Linked DNA regions of Homo sapiens: region 2 is linked to region 1. The links are contacts of gene promoters, found by promoter capture Hi-C in human tissues and cell types (Jung and others, 2019). All regions are on one chromosome and are shown on one strand. Each heading gives the region's core, a stretch centred on a gene start or on the middle of the fragment in contact. The rest is flanking DNA. Distances are from core to core; before and after follow the strand shown.

Region 1 (6,006 bases), core at 1,317-3,816:
CAAGGTGGGTGGATCACCTGAGGTCGGGAGTTCACGACCAGCTTGGCCAACATGGTAAAACCCCGGCTCTACTAAAAACACAAAAATTGGCCGGGCATGGTGGCACATGCCCATAATCCCAGCTACTCAGGAGGCTGAGGCAGGTGAATCGCTTGAACCCGGGAGGCAGAGGTTGCAGTGAGCCAAAATCACACCACTGAACTCCAGCCAGGGCGACAGAGCGAGACTCCGTCTCAAAACAAATAAATAAATAAATGAACAGCCTATTTATCTTGACATGCAGGGAGCACAAGCACTCCCCAGGGTACGCAGAAGCTGAGAGAATGACCTCAGTATCCAAGCAATCCCCAGGGCACTGATAAGAAAATGAGATGTTAAGAATTCAGCACAGATCCTATTTTTTTTTTTGAACCATTTTTCTCAATTGAAAAACTGAATGCCACAGAAAACATAATATTCATTAAAAGACAACCTAGAGAAAAGTGAAATGCCTAATTACAAATGGTGGGAAAGATATCTGCAACACGTGACCAATGAAAGATTAGTATTTAGAATAAAAAGAGCCCTTATAAATCATTAAGAGAAGCATAATGTGAGCAAACAAATGTGGCCGAGTGACATGAATAAATGCTCATTACCATGAAGGATTAGGGAAATGGCAGTCAAAATCTCTATATCATTTTATATCCATTTGGTTGGCAAAAATTAAAGTCTGACAATATCAAGCGTTGAGGGAATGTGGATACACAGATTGGTAAGAGTGAAAATTGGTACGGGCACTTTCGAAAAGCTTGCATTTTAAAATTGAACATACATATTCTTTATTACCCAGTAATTCTGTTCCTAGGGATAGAAGCAAGATGAATCATTATGCATGTACCACAAAAGATAGATGCAAGAATGTTCACAACAGCACAGCTTATAAAAGCAAAACAGAGAAAGCCAAAATACCCACCAACCAGAGTGTGGATATGAATAAACAGTGGTTTCTTGTGTAATACACAATGGTGTATTACACAGCAGCCAAAGCAAATGCATAACAGGCCCATACAGTATAGAAGAATCTTAACAATACAATATTAAGTGAAAAATAAAAACCCCATGAAATTACATACGACACACTACCCTTTTTATAAACGTAAAAATTACTTTGTAAAAATGTACTTTTCAGGAAATGGAGTAGAATTATACAAAAAGAAAGCAAGAAAATGATAGTCTTCAGCATGCTGATTACTTTGGGTAGGGAGTGGCAGGCAGCAGATGGGGGAGTGGCATGGGCGTGTTACCAAGGTGCTAGCTTTTGTTTTCAGCGGTGGGGGTCTTGCATGCTTACAACATTTTTTTTAAAAATAAAACATTTAAACGATAAAACTGCTGAAAATAAGTCATAGATCAGTAATACTCGCGAACAAGGGATTATGATTATGCCAACTTTTAAAAAGTGGCATTCCCAGCTTACCTTCATAAAGCTGTGCATACTGGGGGAAACCAGTTGCCCGTAGCCAATCACAAGCTTCCTTGGCTTCAATTTCTAGAACAGAACAGAAGAAAGACAAAATTAGCCATGTGTACCTCGCCATGCTTATTTTTCCTGAATAAGCTTTCGTTTTATGATACAAGCAAAACATGACTGCCATAGAAAATACAGATAAGCAAACAGACATACACGCTTAATTCGAATGGTTTACATTTTGTATGCATCGTTTCCAGTTTTTTCACGTGTACATGAGGATGTATTTTCCCTTTACAAAAAATAGAAATGGGGTCCTGAGAGTAAGTTTCTCATTTTGTGCTGCTTCTGAAGTGCTCTGATTACAAACGGTTATGAAAATAAGGCATCATGAGAAAGTTGAAGAGAGATTTAATAACTCATTTGAAGCCTGGCCGGCCTATTGTACTACTTTTCACTTCAACAAAAGGCCACAAAGTACCTCCACCACCACGCTAAAATAGAATTTATCTGAGTAAAGTCACAGGCTTTCTGACACCCAGGGGTTGGGTGTTTCAAAAGCCCCTGACCTTGTGTTGTTTCACTGTTGCGTGATCAGGTACTCATCAGGTATTAATCCAGTAGGAGAGGCCCAGGCTGTCAAGGAACATGGAGGGCACGAAGTCAGTAAATCCCACAATCTTGGCAGGCAGAAATGGCTAATAAAGCTTCTACCTCCCTGTGGTTTCACATCTTGTAGATAGAATCGATAAACAGAAAGGCCAAGAGCAACTGACACACTGTGTTAAAACTCACTGGAGCACATATTTACAATCCCGTTAAAACTGACTCACAGAGGAGGTCCTGGGAACATTAGTTAGTGTCTCTGCTTGCACAAAGAATATTCCTTTCAACTCTTCCTCCCACCTTCCTCAGGCCATGAGAGTACTCAGTTACACAAGTCTGTTCACTCATTTATAAAGGTCTCAACATTGCATAATTTATGCCAGATTCAAATCTTCATTAAGCATCTCTCTCAAGCAAGTGGGAGACTAATAGTTCATATCAGAAGTGTAACACATCTTATTTTTGTCTAGTAACTTTATGTTTTCAAAGCACTTTTTCACCTATTATTTCCTGAGTTCCTTGGCCTTTGAAGAAAGGTAATTAAGCAAATCCAAATTCATTAAAGCAAGTGGGAATTTGATCAATGAACACAGGAAAGAGAAAAAAAATAACCTGCCATCTCCTGATGAGTTCTTAATACCCAAACTAAAAACGATTATGGCAGTAGCCTGGAAATAAATAGCATGGCAAAGTTAACTTCATGAATCTTTTCAGTGCAGCAGTGAAAGTAGCATTATTCAACCCAAGACTTAGGACCGAAATGGGAGCGAATGATAGTGACATCAGTGTGGAAGAACTTCGATGTTTACACTGAATAAAAGTGTAGAATTGTCCAAAGTCAATTATTTGAGCTTACTTTTTTTTCGTATGTGTATATCCACATTTTGTCTCAGCAAGGAAATAAAGATGTTTTAAATAAAATTATAAAATAGACACTTCCTAGAAAACTATATTGCTGGAAAAACATATACAAGCTCAATATTTTATTTTAAAAAACAAGGAAATTAGACTGGGTGTGGTGGCTTGCGCCTATAATCCCTGCATTTGAAAGGCTGAGGTGGGAGGATCATTTGAGCCCAGAAGTTGAAGACCAGCCTGGGCAACATGGCGAAACCCTGTCTCTACCAAAGAAAAAAATTACAAAAATTAGTCAGGTGTGGTGGTGTGCTCCTGTAGTCCCAGCTACTCTGGAGGCTGAGGTGGGAGGATTGCTTCAGCTTGGAAGGCTGAGGCTGCAGTTAACCTCAATGGTACTACCACACACCAGCCTGGGCAACAGAGTAAGACTCTGTAACCGCTAAAAAAAAAAGAGGAACTTACTTTTGCCCTATCTGTGTGCCTGCCCCCTCCCACAAAACATAGATATGGAAAGAAAAAAGGCTGTTTGTCTTTAAAAATATTTTAAAAACTCATTTCATTTGGCTACTTAGAGGTTATTTTCATTGAACAGACTGTTAGACATTGAACAATAGATTGTTAAAAAGTAAATGTGCTTGCTTTCTTAATATTTAACTTAATAAGTGGTGAGTAACCAAAAATTCTCAGTGCCCGCCCTTTTTTGACGATAGTCAGACACGGCAGTAGGTGAGCCCACATACAAAAGCCTTAATTAGATACCAATTCACTAGCCAATCCTGCCAGAGCATGCTCCTGCTTTACTAAGAGAAATAGTTTCATGCCAAGAGGCATGGAAGATGTAAGATACTAGTTTTTTAAGCAATCTTTATATTTTTTATATAATAACTTTACAAAGTATTTATTTAAGGTCCCATGTGATTTCAGCAACACAAAAATGCATATTCCTGTCTTCTTGTTCTCTTTCTTTTTTTTTTTTTTTTTTTTTTTGAGACAGAGTCTTGCTCAGTCACCTAGGCTAAAGGGCAGTGTTATGATCCTAGCTCACTGCAGCATCGACCTTCCGGGCTCAAATGATCCTCCCACCTCCGCCTCCCAAGTAGCTGAGATAGAGGCAGGAGCCACTGTGCCTGGCTGTCTCTCTTATTTTCTAATGGCCCTGTCTAACAAATAAAATGACTCCAAATGATCATAAACTGATCAGAAAAGCTGTGTCAAAATAGTCACTCTTAGGGCCACTTAGTTAGAAAGAATGTAAACAGGCAAAGGTTTGCTTCTTCAGCAGATAATTTAATTAACAGTTTATACAATGGCTAAAACACAGTACTCCCCAAACAGCAGAGATCTAGTCATCTTATCCTTTCTCTTCTTCACCCTAAAAAAAAATGACAATTTGTCTTTCCTTTTGATATGAAACCATGGGAAATAGACAAGCATATGACTATTTTACCAACACAAAGAGTCCACTCTGAAAACTTAGGCTGCATTCAAATGAGACCCTAACCCACTGCTTTGTAGAAATCAGAATTGGAAAACTGTAAAAAGTTGTCACATATTTTTTAGAAAATGGAATACTTGTTGACCTCACGCCTACACTTTCCAATTCATAGGTCAAGAGAAAGTACTAACAATCCAATGTACGTACTGATTTTTAAAAATCAATTATTTTTATTTTTTTAATGTGAAATGAACCTATATCTACATGCGAGTCACACAGTTTCATTCCCCGATTCACACCATTACTTTCTCTCTAATCTAAGTATTAATAAAACTCTGGGTCTGTAAACAACCCTCTCTTAAGAGAATCTGTCCATCAATCCTGGCTCATCAAACTTTCTGAGTTACAGTATTAATCTTCTCTCTCCTTCACAAACTTCGCTGGAGCTCCACGTGTAAAGAATGAGGTCTTAGCTCTGTGCGGTGACTCACGTTTGTAGTCTCAGCACTTTGGGAGGGAGAGTTGGGTGGACTGTTTGAGCCCAGGAGTTCAAGACAAGCCTGAAGAACATAGGGAGACCCCATCTCTACATAAAATACAAAAATTAGCCAGGCATGGTGGCACATGCCTGTTGTCTCAGCTACTTGAGGGGCTGAAGTGGAAGGACCTACTTGAGCCAGAGGTGGAGGCTGCAGTGAGCTGTGACCACACTACTGCATTCCAACGTGAGCAACAGGGCAAGACCCTGTCTAAAAAAAAAAAAAAAAAAAAATAGGTCTAAACACCCTGGCAAGGTTTTCAAGGCTCTCCACTTGGCATCCAACCTAATTGTTCAGCTCCCTGTACCCAAGCACTCTAGCCAAAGTAAATTTGGTGCTCATCTCCACACACACTGCACTTCAGTGAATTATCTGGCCTGAAATGCTGAAGATGAAATTTCACTCATCCTTCAAGATCCCAACTAAATGCCACCTCCTCCATGCAGTCTTCCCATTTACCTCTCAACAGTTCTATATCAATGGGTCACTTTACTGAGTGCTTAATACGCATAAGGCCCTGTCTAAGCGCTAGTGCATATTAGTTCATTTACACCTCACATTGATCCTAAAATGTGGATTACTAATATCTCTGAGATAAACACATGAGGAAACAGATAGAGAAGTAACCACCTCTCCTTAAAAATGAGCTTTCTGAGGCCAAGCGAGGTGGCTCACACCTGTAACCCCAGCATTCTGGGAGGCCTAGGTGGGAGTATCATTTGAGGCCAGGAGTTCAAGACCACTCTGGGCAATAATTGCGAGACTTCATCTCTACAAAAAATATAAAAAGAAAAAAGAGCTTTCTGCCTGTATTCGCAGCTACTCAGGAGGCTGAGGTGGGAGGATTGCTTGGGCCCAGGACTTCAAGACCAGCCTGGGCAATACAGTGAGACTCTATCTAAAAAAAAAAAAAACTTATAAAAAAATTTTTAAAAATGAGATTTCTACATTCAAATGCCATAGTGAGAGAAGGAACAATTACTTACAAAAATGCAAGGTTCTTCCTGCAAGACAGGTTCTTCCCTTTAAAAATACTGTATGTAACAGCTTGGGCATGGTGGCTCACGCCTGTAATACCAGCACTTTAGGAGGCCAAGGAAGGCAGATCATCTGAGCTC
Region 2 (6,052 bases), core at 2,279-4,778, 400 kb after region 1:
CTTTTTTTTTGGCATTTGAGTCACTGTTTAATCTTTTAAAGTTCATTTATATACTCTAATCCACTGAATCAAAATTAACAATCTTTTTTAACTGGGCCTCAAGGTCCTAGTTTATTCATTATTATTCTGTTTAACTTTCTTAAAAATTAGCCCATTTATTTATCAAAACTCTGTAAACTATCAGTTGAAAGCCAAAACAGAACCATAGAAGTAAACACTGTATTTCTCTATCACACCAAAGTCAATCAAGAGTCATTCTTCTCTGTAACTCTGTTTGGTCTATGTTGTTTATGCAAGGGGCTTATCTTTCGTGTGGGGAAAGCAGGCCCAATATTCACACTACTTCCCTCAAATTTGAAAGTTTTCAGTGTTCCCTTGTCCTCTTCCAATTCTCATGTGCAATTCTTGACATGTCTCTATTTTGATAATAAAATCCCTGATCTAGATCTTGGTCATTTGGAACTTTGCCATACTGTAATAGTTTTTAAAGAGTGATTCTCATTTTATAACACTGACATCACTCATTTTTCAAGAGGAAACAAAAAACAAACAAAAGACAAATTTCAAATGATCAATTTTTGACCTATTTTAAGCCTGTAAGATCTAAAACTCTATGAATAAGATTAAACCATCCCATAAGTATTTGTAGTGAGTTATATGGTATGGGTAGGTATAGACAGAGAGAGAAAAAATTCTTTTTTTTAAATTATAATGTCCTTATGAAGAAAATGAAGTGATGTGCTATCTTTTACTAGGCCTTCTAGGAATCAGGCAGTCAGCTATAAGGGCCACCACTTTACTGCACTTATTTCTCATTCCAATAATGTAGAGTGTGGTGACATTGAAAGGAAGTGTTGAATAGTGTCTCTTTTAAGTAGTAATAACATCAGGAAACTCAATCTGGTCATGAAAATGGAAAAAAAAAGTATCGTGACACATTCTCTCTAAGGAAATGGCAGCTATTAGAAATGGAATGTGTTACATTTATGAGAAAGGGTCTTGTCTGAGAAGGTATACTGCTTCAGCACACACAGCAACAAATATTGTCATATATGAAGTATGATGCAGATGAAATAGCCCACGCTCCCATTTTATACCACGTTGTTCAGACATTTATTTATATACTGTAAAAATTCTGCATTCTACAATTAAATGACTTTGTAGAAGGCTTAGAGCAGACATACAAATCAATTAAGGGATTGCAAACATGCTGGAGAAATGTAAACATATTTTTTATATGTCAACTTAGGCTTTTTATATATTTAGTGAAAAGACCCACATAGAACTTGAAATAAGCTACAGCAACAATGATTTAGGCTAGATAGAAGAAAGGATGCCTGGGGGTGGTGCTGTAAAATTGCCTCTGAAAGTCATTGGTTGGGACAGTTTCATTATGATCATTTGAGTACAAGGATATAAATTAGAAAAGCTGTTTTCTAGCCCTATTTTTAAAGAAACATCAGATTAAAATTAATATAATTATTAGCATATGGATTGATTTTCTTGACATAAACATCAAATATAATAAAATAGTCATAAAGCAAGTTACTACTGTAAAGTGTTTATTGAAGGCATACTGATTTGATTTTTTTTTAAAGTTAGGATTTTTTTCCCCACATAATTAACATTGGTGACAGTTTTACCTTTTTTTTTTTTTTTTTTTAAATTAGAGGAACTGCAAATTTCTGTCTGCAAAGCACCCTTCTACTGGACATGTTCATACTTCATTATGCATAATTATTATGGGAGGGCAGGATGATGGGATAAAAAGGTATCTGAATTATGAATCAGGGCACTGTGGTTCTGCTGTCCTCTCTTCTATTAGCTAGAGGTGTGACCTTGGACAGGTCACTTTTAAATCCCATTTCTCAGCTTCTTGTAGACAACCTCAAGCCATTGTTAGAGGAGACCATCTCTTATGTTCTTTCCTTCTCTGAAATTCCATTTGGAGATTTTAATTAAATCATAATTTAGATAAGTCAGTATTTTATCTTCCACATATATAAAAAGTAGATTCTTTTTCTCATATTTAAGAAGTTTTAACACAAATTGTCAGTGAATAGTTAAAATTTATCAATATAAGTTATTCTAGCATAAAATTTGAGAATAGCTAATATAGCAGATGGTCACCTTGTACTATATAAAAACTTATAATGAAAACAGTTACTTCATTTCTTATGATCCAACTGTCAAAATAGCTCTCCATCTTTCACTTAGTATATTTTGTATTCATCTAATAGATTTGAAAATGTACATGAATATTTCTTCCCTTTATGTACCATTTTATTTCTATAAAATGATGAATTTTATTATAAATATTCAGAAATATAACAGTATCTTATGCATTATAAGTCCACACTTTTTCGGTCATTACTAAACTTCTTTTCTAATATATTGTACATTTAAACATTTAAGATTACCTTGAAGAGACTACAGTCAGGTGGAAATGTAATTTTACGATTACATAAGTAAGGACACAAACAGTTTCCATATGACTGGAGTGATTTCTGGCTGCCTTAAAAGAGTTATAATGAGTGTCAGTGTCATTGAGATTGACTTCAGTTATTCAAAATATTACACAAAATGTGACCGGAGCAAGCAGTGAATCCAGGAAAATTAATATAAACTAAATTCGATTCCGACATTTAAATTTCCAAAACTCAGATTAAATACTATTTAGGACAGAAATAATTCCTGAAATTTCACGTGTTTACTTTTTTTTTTTAAATGAACCTTTTAAGCTGTACAGGAGAAGCTTGACATATGATTGAAACTGGCTTGGGTAAAATAATAAGAAATTCAATCTTCGTAGTTTTAAATGAGACACAAAATACTCTTTGGAGACTGATTATTAAGCACAAGTCACTCGGGTGCTTTCTACTCTCCCTGTTGGCAAAGGAAGGTAGGGGAGGAATTCATTTACACCTCACACTGATGTGTGAGAAAATGTATTTGTTTCACGTTATGCCAAGAAATAGGAAAACTGATCCGACAGCTCAATTAATAAATAAGTTAAACGTAAAAAGGGATAAAAATAAAATCTTACTTTATGGAGGAAAAGAGTTAAATCTATATGGAGCCTGTTTTAGAACTGACAGTTTGCTAAAACGAATTGACTCAGAATTTTCTACTTATCAAACATTTTCCACTTCTGATTTTATGGCTTTGCTCTAAAACCTAGGAAGTCACCAACTCCGTGCAAGATGCTAACATTTATCTCAATCTTTCTGCCTCTTCAAAGACCGCCTCAAAGCATAAAGATAGTCCATAGCGTCTTACCTAGACAACGAGGAGCTGAAACGCCAAGGCATGACACTGCTCAACACTCAGGCTAGGAAAGAAGTCCGTCCCCGTTAGTTTCTCCAAAATCTAAGTTCCCATTTCGTGGTTGAGATCATGGCTCTATTCTGAGCAGTTTCACGCAGTGTGTGAGTCTAACAAAAACACCCTCTGCAGCTGGAGGGAGCCTTAGCTAAGGCAGGATCCTGTCAAGGCATTCCTAGTGACTTCTGTCTACTAAATTCAGACTGAGGTTTTGCAAAAGGGGCCTCCACAACCAGGCCCAGATTGCCTGGAAAGTATTTCCTGCCTCTGAGGAGTGTGCATGCTAGAAAGGCTGTACGAAGAGAGGGGAGGAGGGGAGAGCCCAGCCGCCTGGGCGTTTTAGGAGTTCTGATTTTACACAGAACTCAAGTGAGTTTTGTCAAAGCTCTTGAGGTGATTAGCTGTAGAGTCATAAAGTCCTAGAGCTTTTTCTATCCCACACTGCTTATGAAAAAAGAAAGAAAGAAAGAAAGAAAACGTAGTTTTCTCTCTATCCACAACCTTTCCACTATATTAAATGTATATGCACAGCTTAATCAAAATGCCTGTGCTTGCTCTCATTTCAAAAGATCTTTTAAGAGAGCAAGATGAATTTAGCCTTAATACCATAATTCTTCTAAATGGCAAAACCTTTTTTGAACATGACTTAAAATTGGAAATGCTGCAGCTTTTCATTCTGTCCCTGAGACCATCTGTAAGTAAAATCCCAAGCATCCAGTTAATAGAACGATTTCTTCCAGATCTCTCTGATCACAAGAATCCTTCACAGAATTAAAATAGTTCGTGTTATGGCAAATGCAGCAGCGCATTACCTCTAGTCAGAATCCTCCAGTTACAAAAATCCAGTGCTGGAGCAGAAGACAGGCTCCATCTTGATCGTATTAGAGTCTTGCTGACATTAAACACTTACAACTGCTTCCATCTAGCATGGCAGCGTTCCTGAATCACATCTCTAAAGCCGCTCATGGTATCTGCATCCTTCGTCCGTCACAAATTTTGTGAACTATCATCTGTTTATCTTTTCTGCTTTCTTGTGCCTCCCTTGAATGACTTCCTCCTAGCTGCTCCAGGTTGGGAATTTGGACTACCATTTGGTTTTGATTAAAACCAGACAGGCAACTCTGGAGAATTTAGGGAATAAGCTAATGGAAACTGCAAGTATGGCTTTAATTAGTGCATCAATTAATAATAGATGTTAGCTCGTCTTATAATAAGATATCACAAATACAAACACAGAGGAAGCTGAAGTCGTTTCAGGAAAAAAGTTACACCAATTTTCCTTCCTTTATGACCCAGAATCCTCTTTAGAGAATGTGGAAGGAAAGAAGAGGGAGGTGGTTTTGGGACATCCAGGCTGTGGAGAGGCCAGTAGAGCAGCTTCATTGTTTATACCAGGGAAGCAGGAAACAGCATCTCTGACTTTAATTATCTTGCTTGGTGGAAATGGCTCAGTCATGTCTCCCTTCTACTTTATTTACAATCAATGGATTTCGCTGCTATTTATGACTCAAGCATTTTTTTGGGGGGGGACTGATGATCAGATTAATTATTAGGTCTATCTGCTTCTTGCAAATTTCTAGAAGCTTTCAATAATAGGAAGTGCAAGAATAATTCCAGTTGGATGTGATAAAATGAGTAACATATAAAGAGGTAAAAGACATCTTAAACTTGTTGGCCCTAAGATCTATCCTGTTCTTCTCTGAAATTGTAAGTAGTTTTCATTGTTCACTGTTATTCTCCATCCCTGTATATCACAAGGGCTATCTTGTAGTACTTTTTGATAATATTGGGTAGGTGATAACTCAAAGATGCACAAGGTTCTAACTACTATTTTTTTCCTTATTAGGTAGCTAAAATCTCTCAAAGTTAATGCAAATCATGAACCATATTAGACCCATGTTAGATGGCAAGAATGACTTATACTGTGCATGAGTTTGAAGATGAGAAGTAGTCAAATAAAAACGTTTGGTCAGAAGCAGCTTTAAAAGTTTAGATCAAAGTCTTATTGACTAAAAACATGAGCATTTAGGTTTCTTTAATTTAATCTTCAACCATAGGCCAAGAAAGAAGTCTGTTCTTCCATAAATTCTTTAAAAAGTATTTATATTTATATTCAAAGTGTTTCTACTGACAGTATGCCTATTTAATCTTTCCAACAATTTTGCGTGTATTCATATGTTTTATTTTACAAATAAAGTATTGAGAAGCAATTTTCTCACAGTCAAATGATACAAAGTGCCCAGGTCCACACTGGAACTCAGATATTCTAGCTCCAAGCTTTGTGCTTTAATTTTTTCTCCATAAACTGCCTTCCTTGACTTCCACTTAATTTCTTTATTAAATTGGGAAGACTTCTTAAACTCTAATAGTTTCTCTTTAAAAATAGAGACAATTTCACATAACTTATAGATTGGAAAGCAGGATGAAATTTATATGCAGAAATATTTGTGTATTTATGTTTATTTCCCTAAGAAAAACACTGGAGAAGAAAGGAATGAGAACTGATATTATGTCTTTCCTAATATAACTTGATATCTCTATCTCTGTCACTGCCTTTAGTACTGATATACAGTGGTTACTCAATATTATATCAGCATCATGCTAATTCTTAGCTACATTTTATTCATGAATACTGTACCCCGCGCCATATACTTTAGTTTTGTTTCTATTTCTATTGGCTTGGGAAAACAAGAAAACTCTGTTCACAAATGCCTTTTAGATATCTAGA

What was found. The method cuts DNA at HindIII sites, captures the fragments that hold promoters and counts their contacts. A contact is called where the count stands out against the background at its distance.
Region 2: the fragment with the promoter of DLC1 here is called in contact with a fragment that was not itself captured in region 1 in 2 of the 25 tissues and cell types used here (aorta and heart right ventricle).

The regions. Positions count from the first base shown.
Region 1 is chr8:13,114,127-13,120,132 of GRCh38, forward strand. DLC1 (DLC1 Rho GTPase activating protein) reads right to left here. Exons shown (of 18, transcript NM_182643.3): 6 at 1,460-1,531. Among named protein-coding and RNA genes, the nearest start is that of TRMT9B, 170 kb to the left of the region's middle. The HindIII fragment of the contact is 5,196 bases long and covers 1-5,164 here.
Region 2 is chr8:13,511,323-13,517,374 of GRCh38, forward strand. It overlaps DLC1 (DLC1 Rho GTPase activating protein), which reads right to left and starts at 3,529. Exons shown (of 18, transcript NM_182643.3): 1 at 3,280-3,529. The HindIII fragment of the contact is 7,641 bases long and covers 1-5,254 here.